Linked DNA regions of Homo sapiens: all the other regions are linked to region 3. Evidence: promoter capture Hi-C in human tissues and cell types (Jung and others, 2019). All regions are on one chromosome and are shown on one strand. The core of a region is centred on a gene start or on the middle of the fragment in contact, and the rest is flanking DNA. Distances in the headings are between cores, read along the strand shown.

The links. Contacts are between HindIII fragments. The study calls those that stand out against the background at their distance.
Region 1: a contact is called between a fragment that was not itself captured here and the fragment with the promoter of ADCY2 in region 3, in 1 of the 25 tissues and cell types used here (mesendoderm cells).
Region 2: a fragment that was not itself captured here is called in contact with the fragment with the promoter of ADCY2 in region 3 in 2 of the 25 tissues and cell types used here (spleen and thymus).
Region 4: a fragment that was not itself captured here is called in contact with the fragment with the promoter of ADCY2 in region 3 in 3 of the 25 tissues and cell types used here (dorsolateral prefrontal cortex, hippocampus and pancreas).
Region 5: a fragment that was not itself captured here is called in contact with the fragment with the promoter of ADCY2 in region 3 in 4 of the 25 tissues and cell types used here (H1 embryonic stem cells, dorsolateral prefrontal cortex, mesendoderm cells and 1 more).

The regions. Positions count from the first base shown.
Region 1 is chr5:7,344,780-7,347,479 of GRCh38, forward strand. LINC02123 (long intergenic non-protein coding RNA 2123) reads right to left here. Exons shown (of 2, transcript NR_134277.1): 2 at 2,207-2,700. Among named protein-coding and RNA genes, the nearest start is that of LINC02123, 1.8 kb to the right of the region's middle. The HindIII fragment of the contact is 3,992 bases long and covers 1-2,700 here.
Region 2 is chr5:7,361,932-7,364,631 of GRCh38, forward strand. It overlaps LOC105374645 (a long non-coding RNA gene), which reads right to left. Exons shown (of 7, transcript NR_188260.1): 5 at 2,413-2,596; 6 at 1,572-1,653; 7 at 1,011-1,184. Among named protein-coding and RNA genes, the nearest start is that of LINC02142, 9.9 kb to the right of the region's middle. The HindIII fragment of the contact is 4,428 bases long and covers 1-2,700 here.
Region 3 is chr5:7,394,703-7,397,402 of GRCh38, forward strand. ADCY2 (adenylate cyclase 2) reads left to right here and starts at 1,436. Exons shown (of 25, transcript NM_020546.3): 1 at 1,436-1,804. The coding sequence starts at 1,595. LOC107986403 (a long non-coding RNA gene) reads right to left here and starts at 1,247. Exons shown (of 2, transcript XR_001742597.2): 1 at 1-1,247. RefSeq lists enhancers at 1-751, 752-1,517. The HindIII fragment of the contact is 8,449 bases long and covers 1-2,700 here.
Region 4 is chr5:7,428,178-7,430,877 of GRCh38, forward strand. All of the region lies in intron 2 of ADCY2 (adenylate cyclase 2), which reads left to right. It overlaps LOC105374646 (a long non-coding RNA gene), which reads left to right. Exons shown (of 2, transcript XR_925763.3): 2 at 1-1,109. Among named protein-coding and RNA genes, the nearest start is that of ADCY2, 33 kb to the left of the region's middle. The HindIII fragment of the contact is 3,476 bases long and covers 1-2,700 here.
Region 5 is chr5:7,447,973-7,450,672 of GRCh38, forward strand. All of the region lies in intron 2 of ADCY2 (adenylate cyclase 2), which reads left to right. Among named protein-coding and RNA genes, the nearest start is that of ADCY2, 53 kb to the left of the region's middle. The HindIII fragment of the contact is 5,071 bases long and covers 1-2,700 here.

The DNA of each region.
Region 1 (2,700 bases), core at 28-2,527, 50 kb before region 3:
CCAGGGGATTAACACCAAGAGCCCCTTCCTGGCACCATTATCAGAAGCTGCTCAGAGGAAAAATTGGGTTTTAGGTAAACTTTAAATAACAATCTTAGCTTGATCATTTTTTTTTTTTTTTTTTGAGACGGAGACTTGCTCTGTTGCCCAGGCTGGAGTGCAGTGGGGCAGTCTTGGCTCACTGCAAGCTCTGCCTCCTGGGTTCATGCCCCTCTCTTGCCTCAGCCTCCCAAGTAGCTGGGACGAGAGGTGCTCATCACCAGGCCCGGCTAATTTTTTGTATTTTTAGTAGAGACGGGGTTTCACCGTGTTAGCCAGAATGGTCTCCATCTCCTGACCTCGTGATCCGCCCGCCTCGGCCTCCCAAAGTGCTGGGATTACAGGCATGAGCCACCGCGCCCGGACTCAGCTTGATCATTTTTTAGGGTATTCCAGATAGCAATAATAATGCCTTCCATTTATTGACCATCTTGTGGCAGAAATCCTTTGAGCACTTCCCTACTTCCCTAGAGTTCTTTCATGAAACACATCAGCAGCTCTGGGTATTGCCATTTGCAGAATTGAGGAGGGTATGGGAAGCTGAAGTTCAGGGACATTACTTTGCTGTGAATTTGCCACCAGAAATGGTGGTGTCCAGGACTGTATCAAAGCCATATGGCCATGAGGATTTTGCTTTGAGTAAAGTTGGGATAACTTTTAGAGTTCTGTAAGATGGGAGGATGAATTGGACCTTCCTCCTAGGGTGAGGCTTAGATGAGTTCCCACATCTCAGGACACGCAACAGGCTGGGCACAGCCACTGCTGGGTAAAGGCTGCCACTGATATTATTTGTATTATTTTGTTTTTATTATAGTTGTCATCTTGTTGCTTGTCTGTGCTTCTGAAATTACAGTTAAGTGAGCATCCAAAGGCTCTTCTCAATCCCAAAGCCCACCCCTCCGCTTCTGCCCTTCAAGTGGTATCAGTGGAGCACTGCGTGGTTAGGACTTTCGGCGTAAGAGACAATTAATCAAAGTTAATGGACACTTCTTTGTTACACAACACGACTAATGTCAATGGCAAACAAATCACTGAAAAACAATGACCAATAAACCCAACTGAAAGGTTTTTCCATTGAAAATAAAATCAACCATGCCTAATCTACTTGGATTTCAAATGAAGTCATAATTGCTTTTTGCTGAAACTACTCCAGTTACCCAATACCCTGCACCAGTAATGATTAAACAAATCTATGAACTTAAACTTGGGAATTAGTGAAGGGCTTTTCTTCGGGCAAAAAATTGTACAAACAATCCCTAGGATGTTAATCAATGAAACAAATTAACAGTCAGGAGCCCAGGCTCAGAACCTGGTGTACCATGGATTCAAATACTTGCTGTGCCACTTGGCTTCAGATCTTGAACAATTCACTGAATGTCCCATGTGCCTTACTTTGCTAATCCCTATAATGGGGATGATGATAGTACCTGTTTCATTGGATTGTTGGGCTGATTGTGTGAGTGAATACATATAAAATGCTTAGAACAGTGTCTGGCATGTAACGAGCAGTCAAAACAGGGTTGACATTATTATTATTATTTAGATGTTTCGCAAATTACTAGTTTTGTTTTTTCAAATATCTATTCTTCTAAACACTTTTTTTTTTTTCTGGTCAGGCACAGTGGCTCACGCCTGTAATCCCAGTACTTTGGGAGGCCAAGGCAGGCAGATCACTTGAGGTCAGGAGTTTAAGACCAGCCTGGCCAACATAATGAAACCCCGTCTCTACTAAAAATACAAAAAAATTAGCCAGGTGTTGTTGCGGGCGCCTGTAATCCTAGCTACTCTGGAGGCTGAGGCAGGAGAATTGCTTGAACCCAAGAGGTGGAGGTTGCAGTGAGCTGATGTCGTGCCACTGCTCTTCAGCCTGGGTGACAGAGCAAGACTCTGTCTCAAAAAATAAATAAATAAAAATAAAATAAATAAATAAACACATTTTTCTGCATATTCCTTAGAGATAATTGAGTTATGAACTGGGTAAGACTCCAAACGGAGCCCAGTTGCACCTTCGCGTCATCTATATTCCCGTTTTCACATGTCCCTCACACCCGTGCTAGGATGATTGAGTATGACAGAGACATGCCTCCCCCATGCCTGTGCTTTAGGGAACTAGCTCATCCACTTCTCCCACGGCCCCACTGAACTCTGGGCTGAGTAACTAGGCCTCTGGGGTTGGAGGACTAAAGCTCAGAAGTGGGCACCTAAAGAGGAGATTTTCTGGTGCATTCTCTTCCACCAATGTTCTAATGCAAAGTCTATCAGGAAATCTAGGTTTATATATCTCTGAAGAGTGTTTATTCAATTTACCAAAAAGAATATAAAATGTACAGTAAGTTCTTTCTAAAATATAAGTGTTTCCATTATCTTTGATGTATGAGTGAATAAAACATTGATTTAGACAATGTGGCATGTGCCCCAGAAATGGAAATACAGCATTGGTCTGGGGAAGGGATTAATATTTATTGATCACTACTATGTGCCAGACATTTTATATACAACTTATTTCAATTTCAATTTCACATCAACCCAGTACAGTAGGTTTGACACCAATTTTTTAAAAAAGACCATTTATTCTCAGAGTTGTTGAACAATCTGGACTGTATTGGACGGCGGAGTAGTGAGTTAGAGTGTCCATCACTCCATCCGGGGCCCTCTTGCCCT
Region 2 (2,700 bases), core at 140-2,639, 33 kb before region 3:
TGCTGTCAGGGTGGGCATTCATGTATACAAATTGACCATTCAAAAAGATGGTGTAAAATAAAGGCACCTAAAAAACCCCCAAAAAGTCAGCAATGGCCCTCTAACCAAATGTTTATTAGAAGAAGCCTGTGGTATTTAAAAGGATGAATATAACCCAAGAGATGAGTCCAGAAGAAGTCCAGACCCATCAGCACTTCAGAAAGGCTGAGAAACAACAGCAAAAAGCCATGGAAACCACAATTTTTGCTGCACGTAACTCTAAGCTTCAAAAAATGCTTTCTGTTTATTCTCCAATTCAGTAGATGGTCCCCCCCTGGGTTATACATAGGACTATATCATTATCTTCATTTTGCAGATGAGGAAGCTGATGTTTAAAGACATTATTTGTCTAGGTTATTGATCTAAGGCTGTCCTTGTGTTAGGCTTTATACCTGGACTCATTCCTGACCCCAAACTTTCCAAGGCTGAAACTTGTTTTCTACACTGGTGACAGTTCTTTACACCACACAGTGTGCTATCTTAGTTATTTTTTTCCCTGTAACATAGGTGTACACTGAGTTCCCCTGGAAATACTTGGACAGGAAACATACCCTGTATAGGATGTTTCTTCGACAATCGACATTTAGAATAATGTGGTGTAGAATCAAATAGAATATTTATGTTTAGTGTTTCCTTAACCCAATAAGTGCTGAAATGCAAATCAATAGAAGAGGCAGCCTGTTTCAGAATGAAAAGGAAGGGTGTTCATTTGTTTTACCACCTACTTCACTGTGACACAGCTTGTGGGCCAGACTGCAAACAAGACCTGTCAAAAATCATGCATTGTTCTCTATCCTCCTTGGCTCCATGGTGGATTCCACCTGAAAGTCTCCCATCCAATTCCTGGCCAGGATTACTGTGTTAGATAGAGAACTTAAATGCAGCAACTCCTTGGTGTCTCAAATACTGAGAGTGTGGGTTGTATAGGTTTTTCAAAAAGTGAGGGAAGTTCAATTTAGAAATGCTTCAGGAACAGAGGCAAATTTTCACTGTATTTACAACAGACATAAAGCATGACCCAAATTCATTTACTGGTGAATGAGCTTGAATGTCATGAACTTCAATTACTTCTGTAGAACAGGGGCAAGAAGGCTTCTCCCATCTTCCTCCCAGATGTTTGCTTTGAATGCATAATGTTTCAAACACTGAAAAGAATTATATAAAATTAGCACCATCAATAGTGTTGATACTGTTATGAGATGCTATTTGAAAAGGGCAGAGAGAACCAAATGAGTTTGCATAACTTTCAGTACTATAGATGACCCTTTTTGAACAAGAAGGCCATTTGTCTTCTACATTGGGGACATAGTCCTACTGACGGGAGCACAAAACAAGGATTGTTCTAGACAAGAGAGCTTGTTGATTGAGTCCAAATGTAAAGAAAGCTTTTTTAATATGAAGAATAAAATGCACAGAAGTTGATTAAAGTCTGGATTCTTTCCCTGGCAGGGGTTAGAATAATTTATGCATTTTCCCTCTAAAGTTTCCTGTCTGATTACACCGAGGAGAACAAAGTCATTAAAGGCAATTACCATGTTAATAGACAAGAGATTGAGAATGCTGAAGGTTGGGTAAGTCCATCTTCCTGTCACACACAGTAGTTTTCCCTTCTGCCTGTAGGTTTCCAAATGAATATGAATTGGTAATCAGCATGTTTCATATTCATAATGCAATCAAAATGCATATTTGATTGAATGCCTCATTTAATAAACCAAGAAAATATTCATAACAGTTGTGATACTTAGGGTTTTTAAAAAATTTTTATTGAGGTATAATTACATATAGTAAAATGTGCAGATCTTAAGTGCATACTGTGATATTTTTTAAAAATGTATGTACCTGTGGAAACAACATCCAGTAAAGACATATAGCACTGCCTTCAACCTAGAAAGTCTTTCATGTTTATTGGCATATATTCTCTTTCGCATACCTAGAAAGACCACCATGCTGAACTATGTTCCCATAGATTAGCTCTGCATGTTCTGGAGCTTCATAAAAAAGGAAATGTCTAGATATCATATCTAAGTCTGCCTGCTTTCACTCAGCATAGTATTTCTGGTATTCATCCATGTTGTGTGCACCACTAGTTCATTTCTTTCTACTGCTATTATTCCATAGTATGAATATATCACAATTTGTTTATTTATTCTCCTGTTGATGGATTTTTGGATTGTTTAACATTCTTGCTATTATAAATAAAGCTGCAATAAACACTAGTGTACAAGTAGTTTGTGTAGGCATATGGTTTCATTTCTGCTAGAGAAATACCTTAGAGTTAAATTGCTGGATCATAAATAAGGTAGGTGCACATTTAATTTTATAAGAAACTACCAATTAGTTTTCTACAGAAGTTACACCATTTTGCATTCCTACCTGTGAGCATGAGACATCCAGTTGCTCTATGTCCTGTCTGGCATTTGGTGTTGGAAGTCATTCAAATTTAAACCACTCTAGTGTCTGTATGGTGGTTTTCATTTGCATTTCCACGATGACTAATGGGGTTAAACATCTTTTCATGTCTTTTATGGTCATGTTTATATCTCCTTTTTTGGAATATCTGTGAAAGGAAAATAAATTTTGGGACTCCCAAATCACTAAGGGAAAGGGAAAAATCAAGCAGGGAATTGCTTAGGGCAAACCTGCCTCCCATTCTATTCCTAA
Region 3 (2,700 bases), core at 186-2,685:
GGGATGCTCGCTGGTGGCAGGAGAAGGGAGGGCTCTTGTGCCTTGGATTCCTTGGGGTAAGGCTTTGGGGGAGGAGGTGGGATTTGGGGGCTCTTTGGGCCGGACCACACTCGAATAGGAGGAAACTTCCAGAAGGGTGGGTTCCTTTGGTGATAAGCAATGAAGCCCCTTCGGCCCCCAGGGCGAAGGCCAGCGGCCTCCGCTCCCACGCGTGTCGGGAGGGGACACTGTCCCTGGTGACATCCGCCCCCACAACGCTCCTGCCGGGTCTCTAGCGCCTCCTGCGTCCAGGCCCCCAAGGTGACAGGGAGGGAGCTACTCCCAGGGCCGACCCGCCCGCTCCCGCGCCCAGCCGCTCTCCCCGGCGCCCCTTTGCCGCCATCCCCGCTCAGCAGAGGGGCTCGGCGAGGACCACGACCAGCCACGGGGCAGCTCTGTAAACCTGTGATATGACAGGCTTATACGGCACCTCCAAAGTGTGACTGAAGCTGAGCGTGCAGGGCGCAACGGACGCTGCCCCCGCGAGGCCGTGGCGGGGGCTCCCAGTGCAGTCACTGCCGCTTCACTTCCACATGGTGCCGGTCTCCAGTTAGGTCCCCTGGCGTTTCCGCGCCCTGCCGCCCTCGCAGGGAGCCCCGGCCCTCTCAAGAGGGTGGAGAGGATGGGGGAGCCCTCAACCCTGCTACGCTGAGGGGAAGAAGGGCTGGACGGCAAACCGGTGCCCACCGCGGGGAGGCGGGAAGGGTGGGAAATCCTCTCCAGCTCCCCAAAAGAGTGAAAAGGAGGGAGACCCCGCTGTCCTCTGACCCGCGTACTAAAGGAGGGACCCCCCGGGTCCTCTGACCCCGGCTGCGCTCTGTGACTGTGGGGGAGGGTGGGAGCAGGCCCCGCAGCCCACTAAGGGGTGGAGGAAACAGGAGGGTGGCAGCGTCCCTGCCCGCTGACCTTGAGGTAGTGGAGAGGAGCTGAGGAGCCCCGCAGTGCTCCGAGCCAGGTGGGGCGGGGGGAGTGGTGGGGGTAGGACTCCCTCCCTCCACCCCTTAGGCTGTGTTCTCACTTCGTAGCGGGGAGGGCCGTCCCTCCCACCCCACCCACGCTGCACTCGGGATAGGGCAGAGGAGGTGGACGACCTGGTGGCTGAGTGTGGGAGGCCGGCGGGCGAGGACGACCCCGGGCCGGGGCGCAGCGGGAGCCCCTCAGTTCGCCACTCCCCCCACCGTACAGCCCCCGCCGTCCCCAGCCTGCAGCCGGGCCGTCGGGTGGGGGCCGACACCGCCCCTGCACGGAGGCCGGCTGCGCGCGGGGCGGGGAGCGGCGGGCGGAGGGCCCCGTGGAACCCGCCCCCTCCCGCGCGGTGGCGGTGGCGGCGGCGGCGCCGGGAGCTGCCCCCGAGGCCGCCGCCCGGCCCCCGCCCGCGCGTCAGCGCGCCCAGCCCGGGGCGCCGAGCTCCGCCCGCGCCGGAGGCCCCTGCGCGCAGCTCCGGGTGCCGGCAGCCGGGCCGGCCGAGGCGGCGCGGGGGTGGGACGCGGGCGGCCGCGGCGAGCGGCGCTGCCCGGGCCGGGCGCGCACGGCGGGCGCCCTGTGAGCGGCCCCGATGTGGCAGGAGGCGATGCGGCGCCGCCGCTACCTGCGGGACCGCTCCGAGGAGGCGGCGGGCGGCGGAGACGGGCTGCCGCGGTCCCGGGACTGGCTCTACGAGTCCTACTACTGCATGAGCCAGCAGCACCCGCTCATCGTCTTCCTGCTGCTCATCGTCATGGGCTCCTGCCTCGCCCTGCTCGCCGTCTTCTTCGCGCTCGGGCTGGTGAGTGGCCTCCCCGCGGGTCCAGCGCCGCGCCTTCCCCGGCCCTGAGAGGAGCCCGGCCAGCCGAGCCGCGTCCCGCTCCGGGCTGCCCCTCGGCCCGCGGCAGCCCCTCGGCCCGCGGCAGCCCCTCGGCCCGCGGCTCCCTGCTTCTCCTGCTGGCCCGCGGCCCGGTGGACTCTGGCAAGGGCTGCGGGCGGGAGAAAAGTTTCCTGGGAAGGCTCTTCCCAAAATAAAGTTCCCGAGGTGTTCACCAGGTGGACGGGCAGGGCGTGTGCTTTTTGCATCTTTGCGCACCCGCTGGCAAACTCTGCGCTTTCCGCCGGGCACCGCTGCCCGCAGCGCTGGAATAGGTCTTCCCCGACTCAGCCCTGGGCTTCCTGGGCGAGTCGCTGTCTCCTGCCCGGTTCCACTGGCATGGCCCCACAGTTGGCATTTTAGTTGGGATTGGGCGTTATTCAACTCTGCAGAAAGCCTGCCTTGGGAAAGTGGTTAATGACAAGGAAAATGAAGAAGAAAAATTAAGTATACATCTTTGCCTTTAAATCTGTATGCATTTAGCTCTTTAGCCCGATAGACGGAAAGTGATGTGGTGTTGACTTGTGAATCAATCTTTCATCTCAGAGACTACAGTTAAGAAGCGTTTGGGACGGACGATTGCTTTCCCGTTTCTAAAGAAGTAACGTGTTTAGGGTTTTGGACAGGTTATTAAAGTGGATTTCATCACGAGGAGTATAATGCAGCTCAACAGCTGATGTCAGTTTTGCCAGTTTATATTTTTCAAGCAGAAATCCTTGGCTCGCTCCCTTGAAAAGTGAGGGGAAGTCTGTAGATGGCGATAACTTCCTGTTACTGATCTCTGAGTGTGTGGTTCAAACTTTTGCACTGCCTGTGACATG
Region 4 (2,700 bases), core at 2-2,501, 33 kb after region 3:
AGGACCACTTACATTTTCTATATCATGACTTTGCTTCAGGCAAAAAATTCATACTAGCAGGAGGGAATCTCCAGCCATCTGAAACACAGGGAATGCTGCCTACCTCAGAGAGAATCAATGAGAAAAGTAGAGGAAACAAGGCATAATTTTTAAGTGGCTGCTTATCTTTGTTAGGGGGAAAAACACCAAAAACTATCTTAAGCCAAAGATAGAGTTTTTTCTGCTAAATAAATGGCTTTTCACTCCATGATATATGATTTATAACCATTTTCATTTGCTTAAGTTCAGCTTCCATTTTAAAGAAAAGCTTTAGTTCCCAAGTTTCCATTAATACATACCACACTGTGTACTGGTATAAATTATGTGAAATTGAATTATTTTTCAATAAGCTGGGTTTCATAATTTTATTGTCCAATAAATTCAAAGCTGAGATTAATAAGTATTCTGTTAAAACCAGTGAGGGGATAATTTCATTCCCAAGTAGATAGTGTTTTGTATGTCCATGTTCAAACATGATGCAGAAATTGAGTCCTGATTTACCTCCCCACCTTGAACAGCTAAAAAACAGGACAAAATACTTGAAACAATGGCTTTAAGACATGGGTCAAAGGATACTATGGGAAATTGACCCTGATAAGAAGGGGAACAAAAAAAGTGAACTCTAGGATTGCTCCAGTTTCCTTTCTGGAGAGAGTCCGTGGGCTGTGACACAGGGAGGGGACCCAAACAGAGCCCAGCTAATTGCACTGAGTTGAGGAAACAGAATTCTGAGTTTGGGAAGACAAAGGTGCTGAAATTCTCAGGATGGAATACCAAGAGGTATGAGAAGAGTTGCACAGAGAGAGAGAGAGAGAGAGAGAGCTCTAGTGATTTGTAGAGGGTCCCACCAATTCATCAGCAGAGTACTGACAGGCACATGCCTAAGAGCAATCTACTGAGGCCAAAGAAAAAAGCTCCAGGAAAGAGCAGGTGAAATAATTTCTGGTACTCGCACAGGCCCTGAAAGAGCAGGTACAGTGAGAAGGGGACATTGCCTACTGATAAAGGAATTAGTACCTCAGGAGGAGCTAACAGTTTCAAATACCTGTGCCCCTAGTAAGAGAAATTCAGAATACATGATGTAAAAATCCATGTTTACTCAGAGATTTTAGTACCCATTTCTCAATAACTGCTGAGACAAGAAGAAAGAAAATGAATAAGGATATAGGAGATTTGAAAAGTCCCATTAAACAAGTTGACCTAATTCATCTTTATAGAACACGTCCCAACAATGAAGAGTGTGTTTTCTTTGAAATGCATGTGGAACATTTATTTACTAAGATAGACCATATTCTGGGCAACAAAGTGTTGCTGAGTTTAAAAGGGTTGTTATGATACAAAGTATGTGCTTTGGGCATAATGGACTTAAATTACAAATCAATAACATTAAAAAGTCTGAAAAATTAATAAATAATTGGAAGTTAACCAACACAGTTCTAAATAACCCATGAGTCCAAGAAGAAATTAAGGGGAAATTAGAAAGTATCTTGAATTCAATGAAATGAAAACATGCTGTATCACGATCTGTGGAATGCACCTAAGGCAGTGCTTAGCAGGAAAGTGATAACATTAAATGTTTATGCTGAAAAGAAGAAAGGACTGAAATCAGTAACTTGAACTTTCACTTTAAGAAAATGGAAGACAAATTAAAAGGAACAGAAAACAACAAAATTGGAAGCAGGAAAACAATAATCAGTGAAATCCCAACTGGTTCTTTGGGAAGGTTAGTAAAATTGGTGAAACTCTAGCAAGACTGATTGGGAATAAAGATAGAAGATAAAATGATTGATATTAGGAATATGAAAGGGGTTATTGTTATAGGTTCTACAGACCTTAAAAGTTTAATAAGGAAATATTATGAGCAACTCTTTCCATTAAATTTCACAATATAGATAAAATGGGCAAATTTATTGAAAAGCGAACCAGTAAAACTCATTCAAGAAGAAATAGATAAATGAAATAGCTCTATATGTAGAAATAATTTGAATAGGTAGCTAAATATCTTCCTATAAAGAATGCTCCAGGTCCAAATGGCTTCCCTGGTGAATTATACCAAAGTTTAAAGAATAAGTAATCTCAATTCTACAGAAATTCATCCACAAAATAGAACAGGAAGCATTTCCCAACTCATGTCATGGGGCCACCATTACTCTGATAAAAGCAAAGACATTCCAAAGAAAGAAAACTACAGACCAGTATCTTTCAGGAACATGGACACAAACATTCTAACCAAAATTCAAATCAAAATTTATCAAGTGATTACCACATTTAATCTAGTAACACATATATATGTTCATGTGTGTATGTATATATATATACTATATATATATAGTATATTGATATACTATATATATAGTGTATATATATAAAGGATAACATGAACAAATGTAGTTTATCTCAAGAATGCAGAGTTGGTTTAATATTTTAAAATCAATTTTCGTGATTCACCACCTTAAGGATAATTTCAACAGGTGCACTGTGTGTCACCATTTCAGCAGATGCCAAAAAGGCTTTTGTAGTCTTACATATTGGAATCATCTGTTAGAAATGGAAAAAAACCATTTAATATAAACTCAAAAATAGGAAATACTTAGAAGTAAATTTGAATAGATATGTGCAATTTCACTACACAGAAAACTGTAAAGCGTGGTTGAGAGAAGT
Region 5 (2,700 bases), core at 122-2,621, 53 kb after region 3:
CAAGACTTCCACAGACACGGTGACCAGAGGGTGTCCCTTGAAGAGGCCTCCCAAATATCTTGGCACAAGCACCCCTCTGAAGTTGCTCTGCTTACAACAGGCCCTCTTGTGTGCAAACCCTGTGTGCTGTCTGGGGACACCTGGAACTCTGGCTTCTTCTAATCCCACAAGACCCTGAGGTAGGGATGGGGTCTTTCTGGTTATTGCTTCCCTCAGCTGCAGCTCTGGAGCTCCTTCAATATGAAGAGCTAAGTACCCTGTCCTACTTGTCTCAAAGGAGTTATCAGGAGAATACATTAAAGATGCAGAAGGGTCTCTGAAGAATGTCGTGTGCCAGACCCAGGTCAGGTGCTGTCTGTCCTTTTCCCTCGTGCTCAGAGTTTCTGGTGCAAAAAGATTCTCCCCTGAGTCTCTCTCTGTGTAGCAGATGGCTCTGACTTATTTTATGTAAGGCCTGTAACAGCTGTAGGTGTGTTGGTGTTGATCAGATTCATTCATTATTTTTTTTTTTCATCAACTTTTAAGTTCTGGGGTACATGTGCAGGATGTGCAGGTTTGTTACACAGGTGAGCGTGTGCCATGGCAGTTTGCTGCACAGATCTTCCCATCACCTAGGTTTTAAGCCCAGCATCCATTAGCTGTTCTTCCTGTTGCTCTCCCTCCCCTACCCTCCAACAGGTCCTCGTGTGTGTTGTTCCCCCACATGTGTCCATGTGTTCTCATCATTCAGCTCCCACTTATAAGTGAGAACATGTGGTATTTGGTTTTCTGTTCCCGAGTTTGCTGAGAATAAAGGCTTCTAGCTCCGTCTATGTCCCTGCAAAAGACATGATCTTGTTCCTTTCTGTGGCTGCATAGTATTCCATGGTGTATATGTACCACATTTTCTTTATCCAGTCTATCATTGATGGGCATTTTGATTGATTTCATGTCTTTGTTATTGTGAATACTGCTGTAATGGACATATGTGTGTATGTATCTTTATAATAGAATGATTTATATTCCTTTGGGGTATATACCCAGCAATGGAATTACTGGGTCAAATGGTATTTCTGCTTCTAGACCTCTGAGGAATCACCACACTGTCTTCCACAATGGTTGAACTAATTGACATTTCCACAACAGTGTAAAAGCGTTTTTTTCCCTCTGCAACCTTGCCAGCATCTGTTGTTTTTTGACTTTCTGATAATCGCCATTCTGACTGGTGTGAGATGGTATCTCACTGTGGTTTTGATTTGCATTTCTCTAATGACTGCTATCTTCTCAAGTTCAGAATCTCATGAAGCAAATCCATCAATTCATTCAATCCAGAAAAACCAATTTTTCTTTTAAGAAATGTTGTCCCCCAAAATAGACTGAGAAACAAAAACATGATTCTTCTTAAAATGAGTACTTCAAATGTGTTTTCAGTGTATTCTGTACTATTTTTGATACTGGGGTGAACAAAAGAGCACCTCTGCCTTACCTTTTCCTATGCAGAACTCTATCAGCCTGGTACTTTTTAGTTTAAAACAGAACAAGAACAACCAAGAGGTGCCAGCTTCACTTTCAGGCTGTGCTACTAAATATGAATAGCCAAAAAATACATAAAAATAAAATGGAATATCTGTATTCCCCTATTGTAATACATAATGACTCACTATAGGAGCTGGAAAGAAAAGGAGTTGATTTTCCACACTGGCAACAACCAACTCCATATACAGTATAGGCACACCTCATGTGATTGTGCTTTGTTCTATTGCACTTCTCAGATACTGAATTTTTTACAAATTGAATGTTTTTGGCAACCCTGTGTCAACAAAGTCTGTTGGTGCCATTTTTCCAACAACCTGTGCTCACTTATGTCACTGTGTCCCATTTTAGTCATTGTCACAGTATTTGAAAAGTTTCATTATTATGGTATCTGCTATAGTGACCTGTGACCCATGATCTTTGATATTATTTTAAGTGTTTTGGGGCACCACGAACCGCAGCCACATTTGACGGTGAACTTAATACATGCTGTGTGTCTTTTGACTGCTCCACTGACCAGCTGTTCTCCATCTCCCTCCCTCTTCTCAGGCCTCCTTATTCCCAGAGACATGACAATATTTAAATTAGGCCAATTAATAACCCTACAGTAGCCTCTAAGTGTTCAATGCAAGGAAGAGTTGCATGTCTCTCACTTTAAATCAAAAGCTAGAAATGATTAAGCTTAGTGAGGAAGGTATGTCTTAAGTCATGATAGGCCAAAAGCTAGACCTCCTGCAGTAAACAGTTAGCCCAGTTGTGAATCCAAAGGAAACGTTCTTGAAGGTAATTAAAAATGCTACTCTAGTGAACACGCAAATGGCAAGAAAGCAAGTCTTATTGCTGATATAGAGAAAGTTTGAGTGGTCTGGCTGGAAGATCAAATCAGTCACAACATTCCCTTAAGCCAAAGCCTAATCCAGAGAAAGGCCCTAACTCTCTTCAATTCTATGAAGGCTGAGAAAGGTGAGGAAGCTACCAAAGAAAAGTGGGAATCTAGCAGAGGTGGCTTCATGAGATTTGAGGAAAGACATCATTTCCTTAACATAAACGTGGAAGGTGAAGCAGCAAATGCTGATGCATGTTATCTGAATGATCTAGCTAAGATCATTGATGAAGGTGGCCACACTAAATGACAGATTTTCAAAGTAGACAAAATAACCTTCTGTTATAAGAAGATGTCCTCTAGGA